4 separate regions of the Homo sapiens genome follow, and all the other regions are linked to region 1. Evidence: promoter capture Hi-C in 16 types of primary human blood cells and fetal thymus (Javierre and others, 2016). All regions are on one chromosome and are shown on one strand. Each heading gives the region's core, a stretch centred on a gene start or on the middle of the fragment in contact. The rest is flanking DNA. Distances are from core to core; before and after follow the strand shown. Region 1 holds the start of PHF3 (PHD finger protein 3). Region 2 overlaps LOC100506207 (a long non-coding RNA gene). Region 3 holds the start of ATXN1 (ataxin 1). Region 4 overlaps NUP153 (nucleoporin 153).

Region 1 (3,295 bases), core at 349-2,848:
AGTCTTATGATTCTTACATTTTCTTTTAATCTCCATTTTGTTTTATCTTAAATTTATTAAAACTTCTCTGAGAAGGTAAGTTTTCCTCAGCCCTTCTAAGGGATTTTCCAGCTAGTGGTCTCCGTCATCAAGTTCTACTCTGTTGAATTCCTTCGGGGTTGGATTTTGTTTATAACAATAATTTTACTTTTTCTGAACGCCCTTTTAAAACGTCACACTGAGATCCACCAGAAGAGTAAGAATAACATTAGGCTTGTTTTTATAATTCATCCCAGACATCCCAAGTGAGAATTAAAAAAAAAAATTACTCATTTCTATTTTCCTTTCTCAAAAACACATTACAAAAAGATTGTAAAACAAAGTCTTGAGGGATTGATTAGTCAAGACAGGGGGTGAAACTCTTAAGAATCCAGTGGAATCAGGACAACCCAAACTTCCTTTGTAGAAGAGCATTTGCTATTAAGAGTGCTTAAAATATCAGAAGACTAGAGAGAGGAAAGAACAGATCTTCACCACATGCCTGTGACTTATTCTTCCACCCTGCACTAATCTTACAATGTGGGCTGCGGTTGGTCTAAAGCTTAAATCAACAAGTACTGTAAAGGTTTTAGAACAGTGCAGACCACACAGTAAGGTGCTCAGCAGGTACTGGCTGAATACTGTAATAGTCCCTGTAGATAAAAGCCACAAACCCTGTCCCTAAGTAGCTCCTTTTGGTTGGAGTGACTGACAAGCAACAATTACTTCACAGCGCTTATTAAGGGCTGAGATAGGGGTTAGCTCAAGTGTCTGTGGAAGCAGACCAGTGGGTCTCAAACTTTTTTTGTCTCTGGACCTCTACACAATATTTGTTACCACAAATAATGTATTTATGAAAAGCATATTTTCCAAATTAATAAAAGGGTGATATCTAAAATTTCTGCAGATTTCCTCAATGTCTGGCTTAATAGAAGATGGCTGGATTCTCTTATCTGTTTCTGCATTGAATCAGCTGCTATATGCTGTTTTGGTTGAAGGGTGGGAAGAAAATTTGGCCTTAGACACATGCTCCTGGCAAAGGAATGGAGGCTCTACTGAAAGGTCTTGGCGACCCCTCAGGGAAACCTGGGACCACATTCTGAAGACTGCTTACTGGATACCAAGAATGTTTCTTGGAGGTAGCAATTTGAGTCCTGAGGTAGATCAGCCATGTAGGGTGAGGGTAACGGAGGTAGTTAATGGTAAGGCTGCTGTGCCGAGCCAGCACAGATATTTGGGCAGAGGGCTCATCTACTCCATCCTATTCTACCATTCTTGAACTCACAGTCAATTAATAAAAAGTACCTGGGGTTGGGGAGCTGCGCATCAATATTATATTAACTGTGAAGCCTTAGTGCTTACTACGGTCGAGAAAAAGCGCTCCTCTGATTCGCCCCTCCCGGCGGCGCGGAGGTGTGAGCTAGAAGCCCGCAGGCGGTGCCGCGTCCTCCGAAGACAGGGAGGGGCGCGGCAACGCCGGGAAGCGCTGCAGCCCGGGGCCCCACGGAGGCGCGGCGCTCGAGGCCCTAAAGCGCGCAGGCGCGGCAGCGACGCAGGCCGCGGCCCCCGGAACGGTAAACAGTGGGGTCACGTGACACGGCCCCTCTCCAGCTCCCGCGCCGCCGCCGCACGCCGATGGCTGCGGGGTCTCGCGCCGTCGCACCGTCCCCACGCGGCAAGCGACCTTCGGGCTCAGGGCGGCGGCGGCTGCAACGAGGATTAGGAGGGCGGCGCGGAAGCCAAGAATAGTGTCGTCAGCAGCAGCCATTTGGTCCCAGGAGGAAAAGAGGCTGTGGCAGCGACGCCGACGTCCTGCGCGTACCCCCTCTCCGCGGCACCCACCGGGCCCCCTCCTCCTCCTCTTCGGCGGCGGCAGCGTCCACCATCTTCCTCTTGCTGCCAGTGGTAGCGCTCGTCTGGCGGAGCTGGGTGAGTTGCGGCTGTGGCCGCGGCCAGGGAGACGGGCAATCCTCCCCTCCCCCATCCCCTTCCACACGCACAGCGCCTCCGCGGGCCTCTCCGCCCCTCCCGCGGCGGACTCTCCGCGCTTTTCTCCCGCGCAGCCGAGAGATCGCCTCTCGGGCCTCTTGCGCAACGTCCTCGGCCTACCTGGGCCGCGCCGCTGGCGCCTGTGGACCATTTGGACCGCGGGCTGGGGAGGGAGTCGCAGCGACGCGGTCGCCAGGCGGAGGGTCGGGACCACGGCCTCTCTCCCGACCACTGGTACCCAGCCGTCTGCTGCGAGGGCGCCCCGCCGCCGCTGAGGCGCGGGCGCGCAGGCCCGAGGCACGGCGGGCGCTGCCTGGAAGGCCCGTCTCGCAGGCCCCCGGATCCGGCCGTTGGGGCCTCTTCCTTCTCAGGGAGCCCCAGCATGGAGCTTTGGGCCTTGGTTTCGGGAAACTGGGACTGGCCCTGGCTGCTAGGCTGCTCCCTGCTGCTGCTTTTTGGAGATGAGAGTTGCTCTTCCATTTATCCTCCAGTTACCGCGCGCTTTTGTGCCCGGGACTCAAACTGTGGACTCCTTTTGCTTAGTTTGAAATGAGAAGCCTAGACTCTTGCCTTCCGATAATACATGTAATTTAATGAACCACTTGTCGATACGTACGTGTTAATGGTGCTAAATAACTGATCACCTGACACGGGGGGCGGGGGCGGTGCGGAGAGTAGAAAGGAAGAGAATGTTGATATCGCGCACGGAGTCCTGTGTCCCTCCTTTCCCTCAGGATGTGTTGCCGGGTTAGGTGACCTTTTTCCATCTTTGGGCTTTTAAATGCCAATTCCTAGAGACTAGATTGGGGTGGTTATTAGTGCTTTCCAGTAGTCACGCGTAGAATATGTTCATGGATTAATGTTAAGTGGCAACACTGCTTTAATATTCTAGTCCTAATCTGCATTACATGTAGCGATATTTAATTTAAAAAGAATAATCGATTATTGAGGCTTCTCTAAATACTAACTTTACTATCTTATTTTAAGCTAAATTTAAAAACCAATGCAGTAAACTCTGTAGGGAGTACTTAAACAGTACGTTGTTGTATTTAGTTACTATTTTGGGGTCGAACTTGTCTTCCCTTTGACAAAATGATTGTTAAAGGCCTAACAAAACTACGCCTCCATTATTCATTTTTCGATTCCTGAATGAAGTGTTTGGAACTGTGAAAATATTTGTAGAAAAAGATGTATGTTTGTGTTAGAGCGACATGTTGAGTCAAAGCACCAGAAACTTTTCTATTGTAGCATACTTATGTTTTTGAATTTATAGCTCCCTTCCACAGCA
Region 2 (3,295 bases), core at 545-3,044, about 55 Mb before region 1:
ATTTACTCCTGTGATAACCACGTGGTAAACAAAATTAAAGACTTGCAGCTATGAATTGTTTTTTATTGACTGATTGACTGATTGAGGCAGAGGCTCACTCTGTCGCTCAGGCTGGAGTGCAGTGGCACATCTCAGCTCACTGCAACCTCTGCCTCCTGGGTTCAAGCCATTCTCCTGTCTCAGCCTCCCGAGTAGCTGGGATTATAGGCGCCTGTCACCATGCCCGGCTAATTTTTGTATTTTTAGTAGAGATGGGGTTTCACCTTATTGACCAGGCTGGTCTCGAACTCCTGACCCCAAGTGATCCACCCACCTCAGCCTCCCAAAGTGCTAGGATTATAAGCGTGAGCCACTGCGCCTGGTCCTATGAATTGGTTTTAAATTTTTAAGAAATTAATAATTCTGTAGTATCAGAAACCTTTGGTGTCTTGATTCACATCTTCTGAGCATCACCTCTCATTTCTGACTTGGTTGTGGGGGGCAGTTTCATGCAATCTTACACATTCTTCTCCCTGACAGCTTCTCCTCTCCCACATTTACCAGGCCTCTTTGCTTTCTTCCCTGAGGTTCTTCGGACTTCACACATTCCAGCAGTAGCTCTCTCAGCTCCTGTCCTGCACAGCTTTGAAGTGCTGGTAAGTCAACACATCTGGGGCCCTTCAACCAAGGGGTGACAGTCACTGATGGATAAATGCTCTTGCTTCTTACACTTGAGCAAGATAGTTTTGTAGGCCATTCTGTGTGTTTTTCAAAAAGTCCCAGTGAAATTGGGTTCTGGTTTCTCACAACAGCAACTTCAATAACACATTCTTGTATTATGTCTATATTCTCCCTTCCATTCTCTCATTGTTTCTCACTAGGATCACATCCCAAATTACCTGTCCCCACATAAGTAGTTGTCTCAGGTTTTGAGGGAAACCAAGCTAAGAAATTTGATGTAAGAAGAAAGTCTAGAATGCAGCTCCTCAGAACTCTGGAAGTGGGTTACTTTGCAGTCAGATGACAACAAGGACTTTCTTAGTGATATTAAGGGGAGGACATGTGCATGGCCCAACAATTAAGGCTCTTTCTTACTAAAGCCGATATGACTACTGCCTCTTTGGATGTCCAGCCCATCAGCAGCAAAGATTGATGGTAAATTCCATAAGGAGAGCAATTACACAAAAGTCCTTCCTTCCTGGAGAGAGCCGTGGTTTGTACTTACGGAACTGACACTTCCCTTGATATGACTGGTCTTGTTCATGGTGCCTCTGCCAGTACCATTATATAACAGAGTTACAAACACATGATTGATTGACTTCCTTCCTTCCTTCCTTCCTTCCTTTCTTTCTTTCTTTTTTCTTTCTTTCTTTCTTTCTTTCTTTCTTTCTTTCTTTCTTTCTTTCTTTCCTTCTTTTTTTCTTTCTTTTTCTTTCTTCCTTCCTTCCTTTTTCTTTTTCTTTCTTTCTCTTTCTCTTCCTTCCTTCCTTTTTCTTTTTCTTTCTTTCTCTTCCTTCCTTTTTCTTTCTTTCTTTCTCTCTTTCCTTTCTCTCTCTCTTTTCCTTCTTTCTTTTCTTTTTTCTTCCTTCCTTTCTTTTTTCTTTCTTTCCCTTCCTTCCCTCCATCTCCTCCCTCCCTCCCTCCCTTCCTTCCTTCCTCTTTCTTTCTCTCTTTCCCTCCCTCCCTCCCTCCCTTCCTTCCTTCCTTTCTTCCTTCTTTGACACAGAGTCTCACTCTGTTGCCCAGGCTGGAATGCAGTGGCACAACCTCTGCCTCCCAGGTTCAAGCCATTCTCCTGCCTCAGCCTCCCCAGTAGCTGGGATTACAGGTGCCTGCCACTACACCTGGCTAATTTTTTTGTATTTTTGGTAGAGACACGGTTTCACCATGTTGGCCAGGCTGGTTGTGAACTCCTGACCTCAAGTGATCTGCCCACCTCAGCCTCCTAAAGTGGTGCAATTACAAGCGTGAGCCACCACACCCAGCCCAAACACATGATTTTCTGATGTATTGCCTCCAACTAAAGGACACACTTTATGGTAAAAGAGGTGTGACAATGACACACGACCATGGAATTCCACTGGTCCTACCATATATTGTATCAACTGGAGGAAATTGGCCTGATAGAACACTGACATTGTTTTGTGAACATCAGCAAGTATCCTTTTCAGGAACAGTGCTCAGATAGGGTTGAGATGCCGTCACTCCTGACACACACACACACACACACACACACACACACACACACACACACCTGGCCCTTGGGAAGTTTGGTGGCATTAACACCCCCAGGCAATGATCCACCAATGGGGAATGGGCACCTATGGATAAATGCCTTCCATTTCCTAGGAGCAATTTTTGGGAGGTGTTTTTATGTATTTTAGGATGTCCTAGATAATCAAGTCATGTGACTTGGGGGAGCGAGAAAGAGAAACCAGCAGTGGAGACTTAGAAGAAGCAGCTGTTGACATAGGATGGGTCCAGGAATGTACAGTCTTCTAAAAGCCAGGTGAAGACAATGTTTAAAGGAGGAAGGAGTGATCAACAATGTCAGTTCGTGTCAATTGGTGTTACTTAGTCATGTGTCTGTGAAGAATCATCTTGCATAGTTAAGTCTCAGGTTCTAGTGTCAGATTAAATTTAAATCCTTGCACCACCCCTTGCTCTTTGAGTGTCTTTGTGCAAATTGCTTAAATTCTCTAAGTCTCAATCTCCCCATCTGTGAAATGGGAATGACAGTAGTACCTATGTGGTAAATTGTAGTGATGAGTAAGTGAAAGATGTTTAAAGATGGTTAAATGGTTAGCACAACACCTATTACCTGACAAACACTTAGTAAAAGTTAGCTATTAATATTCTTATTAATATAGCCTACTATCATTAGAATAATCCATTTATATATAGTCATCAGTTGTCACTTTTCTAGCTCTTCCATAAGGAATAGGTTATATAGCATTTCCAAACTAGGAAGTTCATTGATAGATATATGGTTCCAGATGCACTGAGCAGAAAAACTAGTTAATTTGATTTTCATTAAATATCCATTTAATAAATACTTATTGAGCACTTACTCTGCATGCTACTGGGTATTGTGGATATGTGGATGACAAGACAGACATGGATCCCTGCCCTCACAAAGCTCACAGCCTTGTGTGGTGGAGATAATTAATTACACAAGTAATTATAGTGTGATTTGTGTTGATAAGGGTATTAACTACAGGATGCAATGGGAGCTATAGGCTATGCTAATGAGGCTGTGGTTATAGATTCAGTTCCCCTGTAGGTTGCTTGACTTCCAGGGCTATCAGTTTTTCTC
Region 3 (3,295 bases), core at 796-3,295, about 47 Mb before region 1:
GGGACAGAACCAGTTTGGAGGAGTCCCTACTGCACAGCATACGGTAAACAAAATAAAAATAGCTTGCCTTTCTTGTTAGCCACATCGCGCATTATATAACCAGCTTCTTCCGACTGTTTTTTTTTTTTTTTTTTTTTTTTTTTTGCCCTTACTACTCTTCAGCAATTTCCCTCTTCTCAAATATTTATATTACCCTTTTATCTGTAGGATTATATACCAAGAAAGCAAAACAAAACAGAGCAGCCACGGGCTCGAACCGAATCCCCGCCGTCCTTAGAAACGGATTTTTTTTTGTTTTGTTTTGTTTTCTGGCAGAGTCTCGATCACCACCCTACTTCCACCCCCACTAAGGTTCTTGCTCAATCTCCCTAGAAAACCTGAATTGTTTCATCCCTTTCAGTCAGCCCCCTACGTGGTCTGAAACAAAATGAAAGCACAAGCCACGGAGTTTAAGAAGGCAGCCTGAAGGCGGGGGGCTGAAGAGGGGTCGGGGCGCTGCAGAGTCAGCCAAGTAGCCAAGGAAGGGCCCCCTCCGCGTCGCGACGGCCCTCGCCCCCCGCCCGGCGCGCGCGCGCACAAATACACACACACAGTCACTCACACACTCACTCACACTCACGCCGCGCTCCGACACCGCCTCACCTCTCGCTCCGCCCGTCCGGCCCCCTTCCCTGCCCCCTGCGGGACCGGCCTGCGCGCAGCACTGGAACCACGTAGGAGGAGGCGGCGGCGCCCCCGGGAGTGGCAGAGTCTCCGGCCCGGCCCAGAGTGAACGAGCAGTGGGGCTCCAGGGCGCATCCCAATCCCCGCAGCGCCTCCTCCGCGGCGGCCGCCGCCTCCTCCTCCTTCCCCTCCTCCTGGCTTCATTCACCCTCCCAGCAGCCGCGCAGCCGTTCACTCCCGGCTCAGGGCAGCGCCTGCCGCGGCTCCTCGTCTCCTGCCGCGGGTGCTGGCGGGGGCGCCGGCCCGGACTGGGGCGCTCGCGGGCTCCCGGCTCCGGGCGGCGGCTGCCGCTGCACATGATCAGGAAGCGGCCGCACCAACAGGGCGGCGGTGGCGGCGGCGGCCAGGGCCGTCACCGCCACTCCAGCCGCGCTCCAGGCACCCGCACACCCGCTACCCCCGCGCGGTCCCCGAGGCCACCCCTCTGCGCCCCCCGCCCGGCACCCGGCCGCGCGCAAAGTCCCGTCCCGGCTGCAGGAGCAGTCCCTTCCCCGCCCGCAGCCGCACACCCGGCGAGGCCGGCCCTCCGAGGGGAGACCCCCGCCCCAGGGCGCCGAGGCCGGGCGACCACCCGCGGAGAAGTCCAGCCCTCCGTGAGACCCCCTCTCTCTCACCGCCCTCTCCGGGGAGGAGGAATGGGAAGAGGGCGGCCGGGAAAGGGACCACCCCCCAACCCCAGCCGCCGCCTCCCCCCTGCGCCACCCGGAGGGAGGAGGACATGGCTCTCCGCACTTGCGACCGGACCAGCAGCCGGGGGAGCGGGGCGCCGCCGCCGCTCTCCCCGCCCGCGCCCCCCGCCCGGGCGCGCCCCCTAGCCCGGCGGGCGCCCACCCAGCCCCTGACAGCCCCCCCGCCGGCCGCCCCTGCGCCCAGAGTGGGGGTGTCGGCCCGGGAGCCTGGAGCCGGGGACGGTTGTATGTACACACATACACACACACACACACACACACGCACACACACAGAACACGACGCGTCGATTTCCTTCGCTCCTCTTCCAGCTGTTTTCCGTGCAGCCGATTGGGGTTTTGGGTTTGTTTGCTGGTTGTTGCTTTTGCCCCTCTCGGGAGATCGGGGGAGGAGGGATTTTAATCTAAATAAGGGGAGAAGGGAATGGGGGAGGGGGGAAAGAATCGGAGGAGGAAAAAAAAATAGTCACTTACTGTAAAGTGTAAATGGATCTGGGGTTGCGTGGGGAAGGGGGGGCAGAGGGAGAGAAACAATGTCTTGCGGCTGCTGTTGCTCTGGCTGCTGCTCCACGGGGCTTGTTTTGGATCCCCCTGCAGTGAAACAGGTCCTGTACGGCTCCGCCACTGTAGTAGAAATGATGTCTGCGGTATACTCTGCTCTCTCCTCCTCCTCCTCCTCCTCCTCCTCCCCCTCCTCCCGCTCCCCTCCCCTCCCTCCTCCCTCCGCCCGCCCGCCCTCCCTCCCTCCCTCGCGCTCTCTCGCGCTCGCTCGCTCGCTCGCTCCAGTATGTAAATGTGTAATAGAAGCCAAATATGGAGCAGTTGGCTGCCGCCGCCGCAGCTCAAGGATCCGACTTCATGGGGGTGGGGGGCACCCTCTGGCGGGCGGCCCGGCGAGCCGCACAGAGCACGGCGAGCGCACCGCGCGGCGGCCGGCCCGCGCCCTTAACCCTTCGCTGCGCGCCGCCCGGGGAGGCGGGCACCTTTCCCAAAGAGTGGCTCGGGATGGGGTGCGGGGGAGGGGAGACGCGGACCGGAGGGCAAGGTTCCTTCCAGGTTTGGGAAGGGGGCGGGGAGCTGGGCGATGAGGTAATTTGAGCGGTGACGGGTCGGTCCTCGCGCGCCTCCCTGGGTCCCTGCACCTAGTTGGAGGGGACTGAACGACAACGGGGCGCTACTCAGGCAACCTGGGGGACTCCCCCAAGGGCTGTCAGGCTTCAGCTGGGAGCCGATGCAACACCCCAGCGGGGAGGGGAGGTCGGCCCATTCTAATCCCGACGTGTCCTTGGTCCCAGGCGCTCGGAGCAGCATCTGAGAGGGCTCACTCTGATCATCAGCTGCACGTTAAGCCACAAACCGGCGTCGCTTCGGCGTTCCGGAACCCAGGCCTGGGGGCCGCGGGGATTGCCTCTGCGTGCAACTCCGGAAAGTTTCAAGGGGTCCCCCGACTGCACAGGTACCCTCACCTTTCCTGCCGGCGAACGCTGGCGACCGCCCGACCCTGCCCTCTTTCTCTCTTCGCACGCAGGTCCGGAAATCGGCTTTGATATGGAACTACTCCGCTCTAGCCTGGAAAGGAGACCCGCGCACTCCTCTCGCAGCTAATTTCGGATCATTAATTTAATCGGAAATGAGGTAACCAGTGTAGGAGACAGAGAAAGCAACCGGAGCATCAAATGGCAGTTCTCGAGAATCGACGAGGAACTTAAATCTGGACTCAGGGTTTCAGTGCGGTCTCCGACTCCCACCACCCCGCCCCTCCGCCTGTCTCGCCGCCAGGTGTGACCTCCACGCGAAGGAATCTTCTTCGGATGGGTGCACCTTGCCAACAGGTGTGGCACCTGGAGGACTAGGAGGCGCCTCCAGACTAAGGGCGCTCAGTGCGG
Region 4 (3,295 bases), core at 210-2,709, about 46 Mb before region 1:
ATATAGGCATTTCATAGTCACTGCTGCCAATATATGTATATAAATACAACAGACTTTTGTATATTGACCTTGTATCCTGTGACCCTGTTAAACTCGCTTATTAGTTGTGGTGGCTTTTTTTGTATTTTCTTTGGATTTTTCTACGTAGATAAGCATGTTATCTGTGTACAGTAAAAATATTACAGGAATAATACCCTTTCCAATCTGCATGCATTGATTTCTGTGCCTACTGCACTGGCTAGCACCTGCAGTATGATGTTAAACAGTAGCAGTGATAGCAGACATCCTTGCTTGCTTCCTCATACCATTAAGTATGTTGCCAGATGATTTTTTTGTAAATGCACTTTATCAGGTAGAAGGATCTCAACTATACCTAGGTTTGTTCAAAAATTTTTATCATGACTAAATGTTGGATTTTTAAAAAATATTTTATGTATCTATAGAGATGTTCATATAGTACTCTTTAGATTGTTTACATGGTAAATCCCATTAATTTTTTATTTTTTATTTTTTTTTAGACAGAGTCTCAGTCTGTTGCCCAGGCTGGAGTGCGGTGGCACAATCTCGGCTCACTGCAACCTCCGCCTCCCAGGTTCAAATGATTCTCCTGCCTCAGCCTCCCGAGTAGCTGGGATTACAGGCACGTCCAACTGCAACCGGCTAATTTTTGTATTTTTAGTAGAGATAGGGTTTCACCATGTTGGCCAGGCTGGTCTCGAACTCCTGACCTCAGGTGATCTAAGGCCTTCCAAAGTGCTGGGATTACAGGCATGAGCCACCACACCTGGTCTAATCCCATTAATTTTCATATGTTGAGTCAACCTTGCCTTCCCAGGATAAACCCCACTTGATCATGATGCAGTTTCCTTTTTAAATTTGTTGGATTCCATTTACAAATATTTTTGTTGAGGTTTGTGTCTATAATTCATGAGAAATAATAGTCTGTTGCTGTCTTCTAATGTCTTTGTCTGATTTTGGTCTCGGGGTAATAATGTTGGCCTCATAAAAGGTACTGGGAAGTGTTCCCTACTCTCCTACTATACATAAGAGTTTGTGTAGAATTGGTATTATTTCTTTCTTAAATGTTTGGTAGGATTCACCAGGGAAGCTATCTGAGCCTGAAGCTTCTTTGCTGGAACGTATTTTAAATTATGAACTCAATTCACTGAAAAGATAAAAGTTATTCAGGCTACATATTCTTGACTAATACCAAATAACAAAAGTCTAACAAATAAGTCTAACAAAATATGTTCGAGATCTGTATGCTGAACACTACAAAACACTGATGAAAAAAATTTATAAACCACCTAAATGGGAAGATATACCATGTTCATGGTTTGGAAGACTCAATTTTGTTAAGATGCCTATTCTCCCCAAATTGGTCTTTAGACTCAAATGCAATCTCAATCATGGCTGGGCATGCTGGCTCATACCTATAATACCAGCACTTTTGGGAGGCCAAGGTGGGCGGATCACCTGAGGTCAGGAGTTCGAGACCAGCCTGGCCAACATGGTAAAACCCTGTCTCTACTAAAAATACAAAAATTAGTGGGGCATGGTGGTGTGTGCCTGTAGTCCCAGCTACTTGGGAGGCTGAGGCAGGAAAATTGTGTGAACCTGGGAGGTGGAGGTTGCAGTGAACCAAGATCATGCCACAGCACTTCAGCTTGGGCAACAGAGCAAGATCCCATCTAAAAAATAAAAAAAGCAATTCCAATCAAAATCCTAGCAGACTGTAGAAACAAGCCAATTTTAGATTTTTATAGAAAAGCAAAGGACCTAAAAAAGCCAAAACAAGCTTGAAAAAGAACAAAATTGGACTACTCACATCACCTAATTTTAAGACCTACCGGGAAGCCTATGGCAATCAAGACAGTGCAGTTGGCAAAAGGAAAGACACACAGATCAATGGGTGGGTCGGGGGAGGGATGGTCAAAAGTCCAGAAATAAAGCCATGTGAACTGGATTTCAACAAAGGTGCAGGCCAGGCCTGGTGGTTCATGCTTGTAATCCGAACACTTTGGGAAGCCAACACAGGAGGATCGCTTGAGCCCAGGAGTACAACACCAGCCTAGGCAACTTAGTGAGACCCTGTCACTACCAAAAAAAAAATTTAGCTGGGAATGGTGGCACACGCCTGTGGTCCCAGCTACTCAGGAGGCTAAAGTGGGAGGATCACTTGAGCCCAGGAGGTTCTGGTTGCAGTGAGCCATGATCGTGCCACTGCACTCCAACCTGTGTGACAGAGCAAGGCCCTGTCTCAAACAAAAACACAGAACAAAGACGGTGCAAAAGCTATTCAATGAACAAAGAACAGTCTTTTTAACAAATAACACTAGAACAATTGCACACCCATATGTTAAAAAAACAAAAAACAAAAAACAAAAAACCTTGGCCAGGCACACCTGTAATCTCAGAACTTTGGGAGGCTGAGGCAGGAGGATTGCTTGAGCCCAGCAGTTCAGGATCAGCCTGAGCAACGTAGTAAGACTCCTACCTTTCATTTTTTAAAAAAACTTTTTAATTTAGAAAATAAAATGAACCTTGACCAATACCTCATACCACACACAAAAATCTACTCAAAATGAATCATAGGCATAAATTAAAACCTAAAACTATAAAACTTGTAGAAGAAAACATAAGACAAAATCTTTGTGACATGGGATTATAATAGTAAAAATATCTCAGATACGACACCAAAAGCATGAAACCATTAAGAATACACACACACGCACACACACACACAAAAGATGTCATCAAAAGTAAAACTTCTGGCTGGGCGCGGTGGCTCACGCCTGTAATCCCAGCACTTTGGGAGGCCAACGCGGGTGAATCACAAGGTCAAGAGTTCGAGACCAGCCTGGCTAAGATGGTGAGAAACTCCGTCTCTACTAAAAATACAAAAATCAGCCAGGTGTGGTGGCAGGCACCTGTAATCCCAGCTACTCAGGAGGCTGACGCAGAGAATTGCTTGAACCCAGGAGGTGGAGGGTGCGCCACTGCACTCAAGCTTGGGCGACAGCACAAGACCTGTCTCAGAGAAAAAAAAAATAACAACTTCTGCTCTTCAAAAGACACTGTTAAGATACACCAGAGAATGGGAGAAAATATTCGCAAAACATATAACAAAGTATTTGTACCCTGAAAAATGAACTCTCTCAAAATTTATTAATAAGAAAATAACCCAATTTTTAAATGGGTGGAAGATTTGAACAGACACTTCACCAAAGAAGATATTTCACCAAAAGATAGGCTGATAGCAAATAAGCACCAAATAAACACATGAAAAGACATG

The links. Contacts are between HindIII fragments. The CHiCAGO score rates a contact against its expected background, and 5 or more counts as called.
Region 2: a contact is called between a fragment that was not itself captured here and the fragment with the promoter of PHF3 in region 1, in 1 of 17 cell types (total CD4 T cells). The highest score is 5.2, in total CD4 T cells.
Region 3: the fragment with the promoter of ATXN1 here is called in contact with the fragment with the promoter of PHF3 in region 1 in 2 of 17 cell types (naive CD8 T cells and total CD4 T cells); the score reaches 6.1 in naive CD8 T cells.
Region 4: a fragment that was not itself captured here is called in contact with the fragment with the promoter of PHF3 in region 1 in 1 of 17 cell types (total CD8 T cells); the score reaches 5.0 in total CD8 T cells.

Annotation. Positions count from the first base shown.
Region 1 is chr6:63,634,204-63,637,498 of GRCh38, forward strand. It overlaps PHF3 (PHD finger protein 3), which reads left to right and starts at 1,599. Exons shown (of 16, transcript NM_001370348.2): 1 at 1,599-1,947. RefSeq lists enhancers at 287-824, 1,356-2,176 and silencers at 1,394-1,753, 2,194-2,373. The HindIII fragment of the contact is 3,030 bases long and covers 579-3,295 here.
Region 2 is chr6:8,437,397-8,440,691 of GRCh38, forward strand. LOC100506207 (a long non-coding RNA gene) reads left to right here. Exons shown (of 5, transcript NR_038980.1): 2 at 544-635. Among named protein-coding and RNA genes, the nearest start is that of SLC35B3, 3.5 kb to the left of the region's middle. The HindIII fragment of the contact is 6,003 bases long and covers 1-3,295 here.
Region 3 is chr6:16,759,415-16,762,709 of GRCh38, forward strand. It overlaps ATXN1 (ataxin 1), which reads right to left and starts at 2,046. Exons shown (of 8, transcript NM_001128164.2): 1 at 1,884-2,046. It overlaps ATXN1-AS1 (ATXN1 antisense RNA 1), which reads left to right and starts at 1,724. Exons shown (of 3, transcript NR_136240.1): 1 at 1,724-1,752; 2 at 2,705-2,865; 3 at 2,938-3,295. RefSeq lists silencers at 454-813, 824-1,303, 1,374-1,503, 1,980-2,139, 2,147-2,362 and 1 more and an enhancer at 2,500-3,295. The HindIII fragment of the contact is 4,299 bases long and covers 1-3,295 here.
Region 4 is chr6:17,670,314-17,673,608 of GRCh38, forward strand. The region is part of intron 5 of NUP153 (nucleoporin 153); the gene reads right to left. Among named protein-coding and RNA genes, the nearest start is that of NUP153, 35 kb to the right of the region's middle. The HindIII fragment of the contact is 674 bases long and covers 1,123-1,796 here.